5 separate regions of the Homo sapiens genome follow, and all the other regions are linked to region 4. Evidence: promoter capture Hi-C in 16 types of primary human blood cells and fetal thymus (Javierre and others, 2016). All regions are on one chromosome and are shown on one strand. The core of a region is centred on a gene start or on the middle of the fragment in contact, and the rest is flanking DNA. Distances in the headings are between cores, read along the strand shown. Region 1 overlaps AHCYL1 (adenosylhomocysteinase like 1). Region 2 has its middle 10 kb from the start of SYPL2. Region 3 has its middle 4.0 kb from the start of ALX3. Region 4 holds the start of GSTM3 (glutathione S-transferase mu 3). Region 5 overlaps AHCYL1 (adenosylhomocysteinase like 1).

Region 1 (2,700 bases), core at 121-2,620, 280 kb after region 4:
TATAGCCCTTCCTCCACTCCCACCAGACTTGCTCATTTTTCGAGTTTTTAACTAGACTACACTCTATTGAGTTTAATTTTGTCCTCTAGGATTTATTTCTGTTGTCCAAAAAAAAAAAAAAAGAAAAGAAAAATTAAGGAGAATTTTTGGTGTTAATGCTGAGGAATTGCTTGAGTGGTTAGTTGTTACCAATTTCTCTTTTGAACCTTTGGAGCTAAGGATGCTGAGTCTAGAGAAATGCTAGTCTCAAGCCCTGTTAAGTCCCTCTGTTTCTAGCCCGTAGTTCATAGCATCAGTGAACTGGAGCCACAACAGCAAATTCTATCAGCTGTGTACCATACAGCTTGTGCTGAAGGCGAATTTCTTGAGCCATTACTCAGTATAAAGCACTGAGTTCTATCTTTAGGATTTATCTTTAAGAGCAAATTTCTGGTCAGCTGTGCTTCTGCAACCTAAAATATTTAAAGGGAGGTAGGTGTGGGCAGGAGGAGGAATGATAAATTGGGCCAGGGCAAGAAAAATCTAGCTTCATATAATTTGTCTGGGACTATACACCCTATATAATGTTAGTTTTACAGAAGTAATATGACTTTTGATTGCTACATACCACAAAGAGTTTATGAACTGAGATCATAAAGGGCAACTGATGTGTGAAGAAAGTAGTCAGTACATCCTGGCTCATGCTCTGAAAGAATATCCAGAGAGGCTCTCTCAAAGATCAGGGAGATGTATTCCCATGCCATGCACCCTGCTTCCCAGCATTTCTGCATGGTCAAGTGAGCTTTATGCTCATGAGCTTTAAGTATATAATTATCCAGGATTTTAAATCCTCAACTTGTTCTAGCTTGTGATCCCTCAAAGTTGGGTCATACGTTAGTGCTAGATACTAGAAATTTTCACTTTTCCACTGATCAGAGAGACAGACATTAAAAACAAAAATAGAAGAAAGGAAAGCTTTCACCCTGCAGCTTCTTAGCAGGGAACAATTGTCTTGCCAAAACTTTTTTCCCTTTTCTCTCCCATTTTCTTTTACCCAATCCCTTCTTACTCCTTGCCAGTGTGACCATGCTTTCTTCTCTGTAGATGTTAACAGTTAAGGCCTATTTTCCTCGGGCACTTAACCAACCAATCAGAACACCACATCTGTTAGGGGAGGTAACCTGGCCAACAGTGTATCCATCACGTTAGCCCTGCTGGAGGGAAGGGACCCACATTCACCTGCCCTCTGACCTGCCCCTTGATCCCATATCTATTACCGTGTCCATAGGAATAATAGGTAAGGGCTCTGTCTCTGTCAAGCCATGTAACAAAGGACACTGTTAAAAAAAAAAAAAAGTCTGGCATCAGAGGGAGCATGTGGAGAGCAACTTGGGAAGAACAAGTTCATTTTGTATTGAATGATTTTTAATGAATGCAATATTAATCCTTGCAGATGAGCAATAATCATTAAAATCGATTAAAATGATAAGACCTTATTGGCAGTCCGTATGTGTCATTCTTTGTTAAACAGCAAAACTTCATTAGAACCTGTTTTCTAGGGTGTGACAAGTTATAGGTCAGTAGCATTTAATAGAGATTTGTTGAGGGCCTAATATATAGAGGCTGGATACAGGATTCTTCAAAGTAATACCTGAAGTTTTGTATGCCTGCTCTGTGCCAAGCACCGGGCCTGGGTACTTTCACTCCTAACTTCCTTCAGGAAGCAGACTTGCTGCTTAAGCCTCAGGGTTCCTCATTTGCATAGTCCTTCTAAGACCTAATTTCTGAAGAATGCCCCCAAAGTTATGTAAGCTTCAGCCTCCTCCCACACCTGTATCCATTTCTGAAGTGGTCTCAGTGTCTTTTTTTTTTTTTTTTCTCTTTATTTTTTTGAGACAAGGTCTCACTGTCACCCAGGTTGGAGTGCAGTGGCTTGATCTCAGCTCACTGCAACTTCTGCCTTCCGGGCTCAAGTGATCCTCCCACCTCAACCTCCCAAGTAGCTGGGACCACAGTGTCAGCTAATTGTTTGTATTTTTGGTAGAGATGGGGTTTCGCCATGAAATCTAGGCTGATCTCAAACTCCTGGGCTCAAGTGATCCTCCTGCCTCTGCCTCCCAAAGTGCTGGGATTACTGGCCAGTGTCTTCTGATGTAAGAAAGTATTTATCTTGGTCAGTTTCTGCTGCTCCAGCAAAATCCTGAGACTGAGTAATTTATAAAGAACAGAAATTGATATTCTCACAGTTGGAGGCTGGGAAGTCCAAGGTCAAGTCGTTGGCAGATTTGGTGTCTGAAGAGGGCTGCTGCCTGCTTCCAAGATGGTACCTCTTATGCATCCTCATATAGCAGAAGGTAGAAGGGCAAAAAGGACCTAACTATTACCTCATATATGCCAAAGTCTGTTTTAGATACTGGGGATACATCAGTTTAAATCAGATGATCTCTTCCTTTGTGGTGTTTACGTAAAATTCCAACAAGATCCAAATTCCTTCCCTTTTTCCTTTACCCACAATTTGGCCATTAGGTAAGACAGAGCAAGCTAGGGATTCATGTGGATTTGCAGCCTGTGAGTGTGGGTGGTATCCTTGTGGGAACTGGGGATGTAGCTTGGTACAAGGAGTCAGATCCCAAGTGGCGTGGGGAATGCATCTATGCAGGGGATGAATGGCAATGGCAGATTAGTTAGGGATAAGGGATTTGATCACTGTACGTGAAAATA
Region 2 (2,700 bases), core at 102-2,601, 280 kb before region 4:
AATTTACTCAATTATTAAAGGCTGTAAATGTCTCAAAATAAAAGTTTCCTTGATTCTGAAAAACAAAACAAGGATCAGCAATGTCTTAAGCAAAAAGTTATAAAAAGATTACTTCAGTTTTCTGTTAGTTCAGTCAATTCAGTGAACCCTTATTCTGCTTGATATTCATGAACATTTTGGCTCTTCATGAGTCCTGTATGTTTTCCTCTATTCCAATGTTGCAATCTCCAAAGTTATCAGAAACCTGTATTTCAGACCACCTGTCAAAGTCCTATAGCTGATTATAAACCATCTTTTGAAAAGAATCAAAGCAAGACAACAATTGTCTGTGAATGACAAAATGTCCTCAGGGTAGTTAGGATCAAAAACACAATTGACAAAGAAATTTGGTTATTTCTGTGGTTGACAATAACTTAACATAGTAACCTTAATTATGATTGCTAGCACATACTCAGACATTAGAATTTTAGAAATCCCTTGCAATTCTGGAACATATGTTAACATTATTCACTAAAATATAACCTGAAGAGAATTAAACATTATTTTGGCAATGCTACATAAATAAACATGTCAAATAACCCTGTTTACCTAACTCTTTTGGATGCCCCAGGGGCCCTCTGTGGCACCCAAAAGTTAGGGTTGGAAAAGACAACCTTGAAACTGAAGTTTGATCTGGGGAAGGCTGTCAAATATGTTAAAGGTTTAAAACACCTGATATTATGAAATAGAATTCCGGATTACCATAAGTCATTTATTTAGCCAAAATGATGACTCAAAAAGTTTAAACAAGGCAAAAACCTTTACTCATTAAGAGGGAAGATTTAGTTTTCCAAACAATCTGTCCTTAATACTACATAAAAATCCTGTTCAAAGGAGAGAAAGCTAAATTTCACCTTTGCATTAGTCTATTATTAATGTCAACCCCAATTTTTTTAATGAAACCTTATAGATAATTCTATCCAATCTTAACCAGTTTGACCATGAGGTGAGATTCTTATAAGACTTTCATAACTCTTTATAAATTTTGTTAAAGAGTAGATCAATGCCTTAAGAAAATCTTGTGCTTTTATTCCAATGCTCAATTTGTGGAAAAACCCTATAATACCTTTTTGAAGTTAGTCAATATGTTCACACACACGATTTCTTTTGAAAGATTAATTTTTACAAACTTTCCACCACTTGTTTAAGCCTTTAGCTTTATCTTATCTAGTTTTTTAATCTTATCTAATTTAAAACAATCCTTTACCTCTCTAAACTAGGCAAAAATTTACATTCCCATGCCTTCTTATAATCTTTTACCAAAAACACATTTTATCTTCCTTACACACCTTGCATGTAAATCTATTTTCAGTAGTCTCAATTACATGTTGTAATGGCAACTCTTAGCAATTGATATAGAAAAAGCATTTGATGAAATTCAACATCCATCCATGGATAAAAAAAAACTCTCAGCGAACAAGTAACACAGAGAAACTTCTTCAACCTGATAAAGGACTTCGACAGAAAATCTAGAGCTAACATTGTACTAAATGGTGAAAGGCTGAATACCTTTCCCCTCAGATGAGAAACAAGGCAAGTATGCCAACTCTCACCACTCCTATTCAACATTGTACTGGAAAGTTCTAGCCAAGGCAATAAGGCAAGGAAAATAAATAAAAGGCATACAGTTTGTAAAGAAAGAAATAAAACTGTTTCTATTTGCAGATGACATAGTAGTGTACATAGAAAATCCCAAGGAATCACACACACACACAAACCTCGTAGAACTAAAATAGGAATGTATAAAGGTCACAGGATAAAGGATTTTTTTTTTGAGACAGAGTTTCACTCTTGTTGCCCAGGCTGGAGTGCAATGGTGCAATCTCAGCTAACTGCAACTTCTGCCTCCTGGGTTCAAGTGATTCTCCTGTCTCAACCTCCTGAATAGCTGTGATTATAGGTGCCTGTCACTACACCCGGCTAATTTTTGGTATTTTTAGTAGAGACATTGTTTCACCATGTTGGCCAGGCTGGTCTCGAACTCCTGATTTCAGGTGATCCACCCGCCTCGGCCTCCCAAAGTGCTGGGATTACAGGCATAAGCCATCATGCCTGGCCTAGGATAAACGATTAAAAGAAAAAAAGTCATTTTTCTATATACTAGCAATTGTCAACTGAAAACTTCAATTTAAAACAATATCATGGCTGGGCATGGTGGCCCACACCTGTAATCCCAGCACTTTGGGAAGCCAGAGTGGGTGGATCACTTGAGGTCAGGAGTTCAAGACCAGCCTGGCCAACATGGTGAAACCCTGTCTCTACTAAACATATAAAAATTAGCTGAGCATGGTGGTGGGCACCTGTAATCCCAGCTACTTGGGAGGCTGAGGCAGGAGAATAGCTTGAATCCAGGAAGTGGAGGTTTCAGTGAGCCAAGATCGCACCCCTGCACTCCAGCCTGGGCAATAGAGCAAGACTCCATATCAAAAAACAAACAAATGAACAAAAAATCATTTATAATGGCTCCCCCAAAATTAAATGTGAGGGGACTCGAAAAAGTGAAATCAAAATATAAAAATTAAAAATATAAACTTTATTTATCAACACAAGCTCCATCAAGTTCAAGATACTTTTGTAAATGATAATATTAATATCAGCCATTGAGTCCATTCCTAAAGAACTGAGGGTCCTGGGAATTTAACCATGTCAATGCAATATTTT
Region 3 (2,700 bases), core at 68-2,567, 330 kb after region 4:
TCAAGTGATTCTCCTGCCTCAGCCTCCCGAATAGCTGGGATTACAGGCATGTGCCACCATGCCTGTCTAAGATTGGTTTATTTAATCTTCACAGCTCTGTGAAATAGGTACCCTGTTTTCTAGAGAAGGAGCCTGAGGCCAGGAGGGAGCCATTTGTTCAGGTAGACACAGCCAGTTAGTGCCAGAACCAGAATTTACACTCAGATCCGCGGTCCCCCACTCCACACGACTCCTCAGTCCTTCTTCAGTTAACGAAGCTGAAATCATTCACTGTGCACCCTCATTTTCCCAGTGGGAAGGCTGGGACTCCTTCCAGAAAGGAAGGCTGAGGCCAGAGTGGCCTGGGGACATTGCACTGCTGCCTTCATGATCAGCAAATGGCATCTGTTGAGACTCGTATGCCTAGCTGCGGCCACTGATACAGTAGGTAGAGGGTGGTTTCTGCTAAGCTGAGACCAAATGAAACAGAGTGCTTAACACTTGAGAGGTTTATGACCAATGCAGCCAGATGTGGGGCAGAATTTTAAGGGAATTTGTGAATTCACCATTTGTGCTGTTTAATAACCAACTGAATTATAACAGCATTTGTCACTGAAAAATTGTCCATGGAGTAAGAGATGAGTGGATGGCGAGATCCAGATAATTCCAGGCCCTGTAATGAAAAAACTGAACAAAACCCCTCTCCATCTGCTAAGAAGAGCTACGTTTTAAATGGAAATGATACTTACTAGCTGTTTTACACCAGCTGAATGTTTAATTCATTCATTTAACAGGAGAGCCTACCATGTGATCCCCATTTGCTGGTACCAGGATATAGTGGCACACACGACATGTGATCCCTGCCTTCACAGTGCTTACACTTTGCTGGAATGGAAGTGTCTCATCCACGTTGAAGAAAATCATCCTCATTTGGCTGTGAATTAGAATAGAATCTGGTCTTGTGAGAAGAGTTCCTGGCTCTGGGCCTCAACTGTAAGGTCAGTTCTTCATTTAGGGAAACATCAGCCCCAGCACCACTTTCCGTTTCATTCTCTGCTTCCCTCAGCCTGCACCACAGGAAGGACATGTGCTTCTTTTTCCCCCAGTGGATTTCCAGAAGGGATAGGGACGATGAGAAAGAGGTAACCTCAGATCTGAGATTTGCTTGACATACACAAAATTTCCTTCCAACAGGGAAAACTCAGTTGCTTTTTTTCCTTCAAAGGAAAGACAGTTGGTATTACCTTTGTCCTGTTTAGATACTGAAATCCTAAATTGATTCATATAAAAATTCTGGGTTTGGGAACCCAAAAGATTGTTTCTCATTAGTGACATTCTTCCTGGAAGGGCAGGCTGAGGAATGGTAAATAAACCTGTGGATCTGGTGCTTCCTCCTCACTCATGATCTCAGACAGAGAGAGAAAAAGACAGAGAGAGAGAGAGAGAGAAGAAGCAAAATGATAGGAAAAGAAAAGAAAAAATCTTTGTGTTGTGGACACCCAGAATCCTTGGCTGTGATTCTAACAACCCAGGCTGAAGTCTGCTTTGGAATAAGATTTGTGGGATGTTTTTTCTCTTTCATTGATTTGATCTGTTTCATTGGGAAAGACACTTAACCTCTCTGTGCCACAGGTTCTTATGTGAAAATGGGAAGAAATGAGTCTGTACTCCAGCTTTATGGGAATGAATGTGATAGTAATTATACACATGTTTCTTGAGCCTGAATCCACCACTGAACCTATGGTTTTCTGCTCATTCTCTCTGCCCAGCTTACTGAGGTTGGGTTGTAATGGAGGGAGGGGGCCAGAGAGGCGGAGATGTATCTCTTCTCTGGTAGGCCTCAGTTTGACCTATTGCCTTTGTGTGAAGGTGAATAGGTTCTTCTGTGGCAAGTGCTGGCATGGACCATAGAGAAGTCATTTTGTAGAGGAGTTTTTTTTTTTTTTTTTGAGACGGAGTCTCTGTCGCCCAGGCTGGAGTGCAGTGGCGTGACCTTGGGTCACTGTAACCTCTGCCTCGTGGGTTTAAGCAATTCTTCTGCCTCAGCCTCCCGAGTAGCTGGGATTACAGGCATGCACTACCACACCCTGCTAATTTTTTATTTTTAGTAAAGACAGGGTTTCACCATGTTGGCCAGGCTGGTCACAAACTCCTGACTTCAGGTGATCCACCTGCCTCAGCCTTGCAAAGTGCTGGGATTACAGGTATGAGCCACCACGCCGAGTCTTGTATAGGAGTTTTTGATGAACTAATTCTTGATATAAAACAGACCCTTCTGTTTTAGGTTAGACTTTTTGGCCATTTTAACAGTTTGATTAATTTTATGCATTCCTTTATTCACCAAGCATTTATTGACTGCCTGCCATGTGCCAGATAGTGGAGTCACACAGTAAGAATAGATCCTGAGAGAGTACCACTTACTCCCAGGGCTTTTCCAGACTAGCAGAAGAAAGACACAGAGCAACAGGCATTTACGCCATGGAGTGTGACTCTGCTGAGGCTGGGAGAGCACAGGGGGCCTGGGAGCTAGGAGAAGGGCAGCTGTCCCAGCTTTGGGCTGGGGGCAGCTGGTCATGGAATGCTTTAAGTTTGAATCTGAAAATCTGGAAAGTTGAGTGGGGGATGCCTGGGTGAAGGAGTACTAAGGGGCAGAGAGAGAGGGCATTCCAGAGAGAATGGCCCAAGAGTGAAAGCGAGGAAGCCAAGCTCAGGGAACTCAAT
Region 4 (2,700 bases), core at 109-2,608:
CCCCAGTTCCAGATAAAGGATGTGTCTCTATTCACCCAGATTGGGGCAAACGTCCCACCCGGCCTTGGCGCGACGCCACCACCCTCTGGGCGTAAGAAGACCAGGGCAGGTGGAGGGCCAGCTTGGCTGCACGGGCACGCGGAGCGGCATTACCTTCCCCGCACGTGTACCGTTTCTCCTCATAAGAGGTATCCGTGAACTCCAGGAGCAGGCGGATGGCGTGCGCCAGCTGGGGAAGACAGCGGTTCAGCGACTGCGCAGCTCCCACCCATTCCCAACCCCCGCCCGCTAACGTTCCCCGGCCCGGGGCTGCCGAGTCCCTGCGTCCTGCCGGGGCGGTGGTTAAGCGGCCCCTAGGCCCGGCTCCGGCGTGGTCTCCTCCGCCCCTCCCCACAGGGCCCGCGATCCCAGAGGCTGGGCAGGGGTCGACATCCGTGGCTCGGCAGCTCGAAAAGGCTCCCGCGTAGAGCTGCTCCTGCTGGAGATCGCGGACCCAGAGACCCGCCCTCTCCGCGTCAGTCTCTTTGACCGAGCGGCTCTACCGTTGAGACGGCACTCACCCCACGAATATCCCAGTACCCGAGAACCATAGACGACTCGCACGACATGGTGACGGGCTTCCGAGCCTTCGAGGACTAGGGAAACTGTGAGCGGGAGGGGCTTTATACCCGACATAAGGGGGCGGGGCCCACGCGCGGGCGCCCTGACTCCGCCTCCGCCCCGTTCTCCGTCCCTTGCCTCCGCGGCTCCACAGGGCCGTGCGCAGGCGCGACTAATGCCGGCGTTGGGGTTCAGGGCCTGGCGACCCCGAGGCGGGACCCGGGCAGGAGTGCTGCAGGAGAGCAAAGGACCCGAGGTTGAGGCTCCTCCCTTCCCCGCGGGTGGGAGCCAGACTTCATTCATTAATGGTGCCAGTGAAGACGCGAAAAGCACCACTAGCCAGGCAGTGGGGACCCTAGTTACCCAGGGAGAGCGAGATTCGCGCCGTTTTTACCGAGCCAGCCGGGGCTGGATGAAGGATAGGAAGACTGGGGCAAGGCCGGAGAGTCAGACCAGCCTCTGACCACACAGAGCAGAAGATTCCCCACAGACCAAGCTCCCCTCTCTGTCAGTCAAGGACCTCTGCAACCTGACCCCAACGTGCTTTTCCAGTCCTGTCTCTCCCTCAGCCCGTCACAACTTCATAAGCCAGCCCAACCCAACAATACTTGCTGTTCCTTCTACACACACTTGCATTTCCCACCTTGGAGTGTTTGCTCTGTGATCCTCCTACCTGCATCCTAATTTCCACAGCCTATCCTTCCTCAGCAGCCTTGCTGAAATGTCTGCCTATTCCTTGAAGCCTTCTCAGAACCAACCTCTATCCTGGCCAGAAGAGGTCTCTTATCTTGAATGTTTCCTACCTTTGTTTTATGGGCTTAAGTAATTTATGGATTCCTTATTATAATTTCCTCCTCCAATCCCTCCCACTTCCTAATGCTCACGCATTTAGGGAAATTAATCTTGCCTCTTTGTGTAGGATGGACTGGAGGAGGAAAGGTACTACCATTTTTCATTCACTCATTCATCTGTCCAACAATGTTTAACATGCCTGTTATGGACAGGCACTGTTTTAGGTGCTGGGGATACAGAACTGAACTCAACAGACAAAATCCCTGCCCTCAGGAAGTTTACATTCTAATGGGGAAGAAATAAACTAATATATAGTAAATAGCTAGTAAGTCAGGTGGTGATACACATCCTATGGAGAGAAATAAAATCGAGAAGAGAGATAGGGGGTCTCAGGGTGGGAACTGGGGGAGTCCCAGTAGGAAGGGGATTTATGTTTTTAAAGGTTATGTTCATAGAAGGCCTCATGGAGAAGTTAATCTTTAAACAAAGACCTGAAGGAGGTGAGAGATCAAGCCACTCTGCTGTGGGGGCCACCATGGGCTGATATAAATATAAAACAGAATAATTGCTGTTCCTTTTACAAGCATGTTTGCTCTGCTCCTGCCTGCACCCTAATGTCCATGGCCTAGCCTTCCTCAAGTAGCCGTGCTCAAATGCTCACTTCTTCCTTGAAGCCTTCTCAGAATCACCCTCTATCCTGGCCAGAAGAGTTCTCTCCCTCTCTTATCTCGAATCACTTCCTACCTGCAGGAGGCAGAGAGAACTCCAGGAAAAGGGAAACAGCAAGTACAGGAGTGATCACTCTGTGTTTGAAACCAGAGACTAGATGAGATCACCATGGGAGCACGAGTAGCAGAGATGAGGTCTAAGGGTTTGAGGTGCTCTGGCATATCAACATGTAAAGGTTAGGGAAAAATGAGAGCAAACCAGCAAAGGAGTCTGAAAAGGAGTGGCCAGGGAGGTAGGAGGAAAACAAAAGGTCCCAGAAGCCATGTGAAGATGTTTAAAGGGAGAAGTGATCAACTATGTCAAGTGTGGCTGATCAAGTAAGATGAAGATGGAGAATCAATGGTTGAATTTAGGAAAGTAGGGGTTTTGACCTTGACAGAGCAAGAGACCTGCCCGAGGCCCCTATAGTCATGGGAAGAACTAAGCTTCTGAATTTCGGCAGGGCCCATGCAAATGAAAAGGGGCACAGATTTGCAACAGGGTCAACTCGGGAGACATAGGATTCTAGTTGAATGTGGAGGAGTGACAGAGGAAGGAGTCCGGAGCTGCTCTGAGGGTTCTGGCCAGGCCTCTGCAGCA
Region 5 (2,700 bases), core at 56-2,555, 260 kb after region 4:
TCTAGGTGGAGAGTACAGGTGTTTATTATACTATGCTTTTGAATTTTTTTATGTGCTGAAAATGATTATAATAAAGTTGGAAAAGTAAAGTACAACAATGGTGCTAGCGAGTGGGGATGGAGGGTAGGGGGTGGGAGAGGAGACTTTAATGTTGTCACTAAAGTAGTGGGTATGTTCCAGGAACCAGGATTTCTTCAGTCACCTGTACTGATTTTTTTTTTTAAACCTAGAATTGATGATAAATCAATATCGGGAGAAACAGAGATGACTGGCATGTGTTTATATAATATTGGTGGTGGGACTGAGAAAAGAAGTATGGACAGGTCAGGCAACTAGGTAGGTAGTAGATAGCTAAATAGGCATTGAAACAGTCTGGGTGTGTGTTACATTCTGTTGCAAATTGTGGTGTTCAAAAGATTGGGAAGCCCTTTTCTGTCCTACTTACTGCCTTTTTTCTAACTTCTTATGTTTACTTCTAGTTGGCAGTTGCAGGCCTCGATTACTCATTGACTGGAGCACTTTAGGAGATAATAGTGAAGTGAAGTCAGTGAAGTGTTTAGTCTTACAGGAAGAGAGGGGAGTAGCTCACAAGGGTCAAACTACTCTTTGGCAGAGTTTTTCAAGCTGTGTGTTCCTTACCTTTTAAGTGACTCAGCAGTTTGGGGCCTGGTATTGCCTCACCTCTTCTCGCCGCGAGCATTGACAGAAGATCTAGTTGAGTCCTACTTTGAAAGGAGTATTGCTTCTGACTGTGGAATTGGATTCTAGCTGTGTGTGTGTTATATCCTGTTACTGTTGAGACACAGAGGCGGGAGTCGGCGGGGGAAGATATGTGCTGAGATTAGTCAGCCTGCCCTCCCTCTCCCCCAAGAAACTCAGGCCCCATCTGGGGAGAGTGAGAACTTAAGAAACTTGAGACAGGGAAGGAGAGCCGGGAGCAGCCAAAACCTGCTAAGTCTCAGAAGACTGGTTTCTGCACAAGGGAATGGAAGAAGTGACTGGAGGTGGCTGTGGATTCAACTCTGGCCTGAGATTGATTCCCTTGAGATAAGTTGTTTTCTGGTGGGTGTGTCTGGGAGCATTGTGTTGGGAAGGGAATTCCTTTCTTTGGGAAACACTTTTTTTTTTACTTGAAGTGAAAGGTATTCAGACTTGTGTATTTCTTGTACCAAGGAGTGGGTGTTTATTGATAACTGTTTCTTTGGGTTCATCTGAAGTGGGAATCAGACTGGTAAATATCAAGAAAAACTGGGCATGGTGGTGTGGGCCTATAGTCCTAGCTACTCAGGAGGTGGGAAGATTGTTTGAGCCCAGCAGTTTGCAGCCAGCCTGGCAAACATAGTGAGACCCTGTCTCTTTAAAAAGAGAGAGAACGTAAGGAAGTAAAGGTGTTACACCTGTTTTGGCTGTCTGCCATATTCTCTTCCTTTCCTCTGAAAAAGGAGTGGGTGAGGGTAGAATCTGTAGAAGAAAAAATAAATTAACCAGAAAATATGTGTGAAAAAGGGATTAGAAAAGATGTAGGAATCTTGAAAAGTGTTCTGACACACTATGCTTAGTAATGATGATCTTGTTAAAATATCTAGTTTTTTATTGTTACTTTTTTTTTGCTCAGTTGCTAAGAAATATGCTGACCATAATTTCTAAACAGAAAAATCTCTGCACACAATATGCTAGGACAGACAATGGGACAGAATATATAAATTTAGGAATGTCCCAGAGAATCAGTAGTGTACCAAAAGAGGGATCCTAGCCCTTCAAATAATTCTCTGCAGTAAGAAAGACTGCTCTGCTCACTTCTACATTACACTTTCTTAATGATTTGTTTTCCTAGTAATTGTTGTTTATCTTTGAATCTAGTTCTTGACACTTAGGAAGAAACCTTTTTGAGGAAATTAAAAGCTGTTAGATTGGTATTTGAAATAACGAATTTGACAAGATGTCTAAGTTAAACCTAAGTTAAACAATATCCAGATAAGGCTGTGAAGACTATAATATCTGGCATGTTCCTCATGGAGCAGTGAAATTCCATGCCAAAGCCACTTACATTACTATACTGTGGGTCAAAACATGTCTACAGATTTTAAGGGACCGTGTTTCCTTGCATAGAACTTTCCTGGAGTAGCACTGGATACTTAGTTGGTGCCTAGCAAATGTGATGACTAAAGAATATAATGCATCACAGATATTATCCTGATCACCATTTCTTGGCTAAAATGTTGTAGTGGAATTCTGGTGGCTGTTAATTCTTTCTCATTCAGGAGATAGCAGGCAAAATTGGGTGGGCCCTGGGAAGGAGTGTAGCTGGGCTATTTAACATCTGAGAATATAGGATGTGTGTTTATGAAAGTAAACTCAGCTTCTAATGGTAAAAAAAAAAAAAATCAATTAGGATCAACTAAAGGAATAGCATACAATTTTTCTTCTCTTGAGGTATGTAACTTTTTTGGATTGTCTCTGATCCCCTTCTCTTGGTAAGGTCTGCACAATTCTTTCAGCTCACTTTGTCAGCAGACTTCCCACTAGGTAGTGCATATACCCCAAATTATTCGTTTGGTAGAGCTTTTCTTTACCATTCTCAGTATCACATGGAAGAAAGTCAACCATTGTACCTGCTAAGCTATTTGAAGAGGTGCTTTAAATAGCATGTTAAACTGGCCTGATATTTAATTGGGTTTTTAAGACACAGCAAGTAGACTT

The links. The method cuts DNA at HindIII sites, captures the fragments that hold promoters and counts their contacts. A CHiCAGO score of 5 or more calls a contact.
Region 1: a contact is called between a fragment that was not itself captured here and the fragment with the promoter of GSTM3 in region 4, in 4 of 17 cell types (M1 macrophages, M0 macrophages, M2 macrophages and 1 more). The highest score is 6.6, in M1 macrophages.
Region 2: a contact is called between a fragment that was not itself captured here and the fragment with the promoter of GSTM3 in region 4, in 1 of 17 cell types (M2 macrophages). The highest score is 5.0, in M2 macrophages.
Region 3: a fragment that was not itself captured here is called in contact with the fragment with the promoter of GSTM3 in region 4 in 1 of 17 cell types (M2 macrophages); the score reaches 5.4 in M2 macrophages.
Region 5: a fragment that was not itself captured here is called in contact with the fragment with the promoter of GSTM3 in region 4 in 10 of 17 cell types (M2 macrophages, monocytes, neutrophils and 7 more); the score reaches 6.7 in M2 macrophages.

What each region holds. Positions count from the first base shown.
Region 1 is chr1:110,022,268-110,024,967 of GRCh38, forward strand. AHCYL1 (adenosylhomocysteinase like 1) reads left to right here. Exons shown (of 17, transcript NM_006621.7): 17 at 1-1,475. Among named protein-coding and RNA genes, the nearest start is that of STRIP1, 11 kb to the right of the region's middle. The HindIII fragment of the contact is 837 bases long and covers 953-1,789 here.
Region 2 is chr1:109,454,707-109,457,406 of GRCh38, forward strand. No RefSeq gene overlaps it. Among named protein-coding and RNA genes, the nearest start is that of SYPL2, 10 kb to the right of the region's middle. RefSeq lists a silencer at 1-147. The HindIII fragment of the contact is 3,150 bases long and covers 1-2,700 here.
Region 3 is chr1:110,073,354-110,076,053 of GRCh38, forward strand. No RefSeq gene overlaps it. Among named protein-coding and RNA genes, the nearest start is that of ALX3, 4.0 kb to the left of the region's middle. The HindIII fragment of the contact is 4,875 bases long and covers 1-2,700 here.
Region 4 is chr1:109,739,680-109,742,379 of GRCh38, forward strand. GSTM3 (glutathione S-transferase mu 3) reads right to left here and starts at 1,359. Exons shown (of 9, transcript NM_000849.5): 1 at 1,274-1,359; 2 at 561-832; 3 at 154-229. The coding sequence starts at 608. RefSeq lists a silencer at 569-798. The HindIII fragment of the contact is 14,932 bases long and covers 1-2,544 here.
Region 5 is chr1:110,003,390-110,006,089 of GRCh38, forward strand. The region is part of intron 1 of AHCYL1 (adenosylhomocysteinase like 1); the gene reads left to right. Among named protein-coding and RNA genes, the nearest start is that of AHCYL1, 20 kb to the left of the region's middle. The HindIII fragment of the contact is 5,770 bases long and covers 1-2,700 here.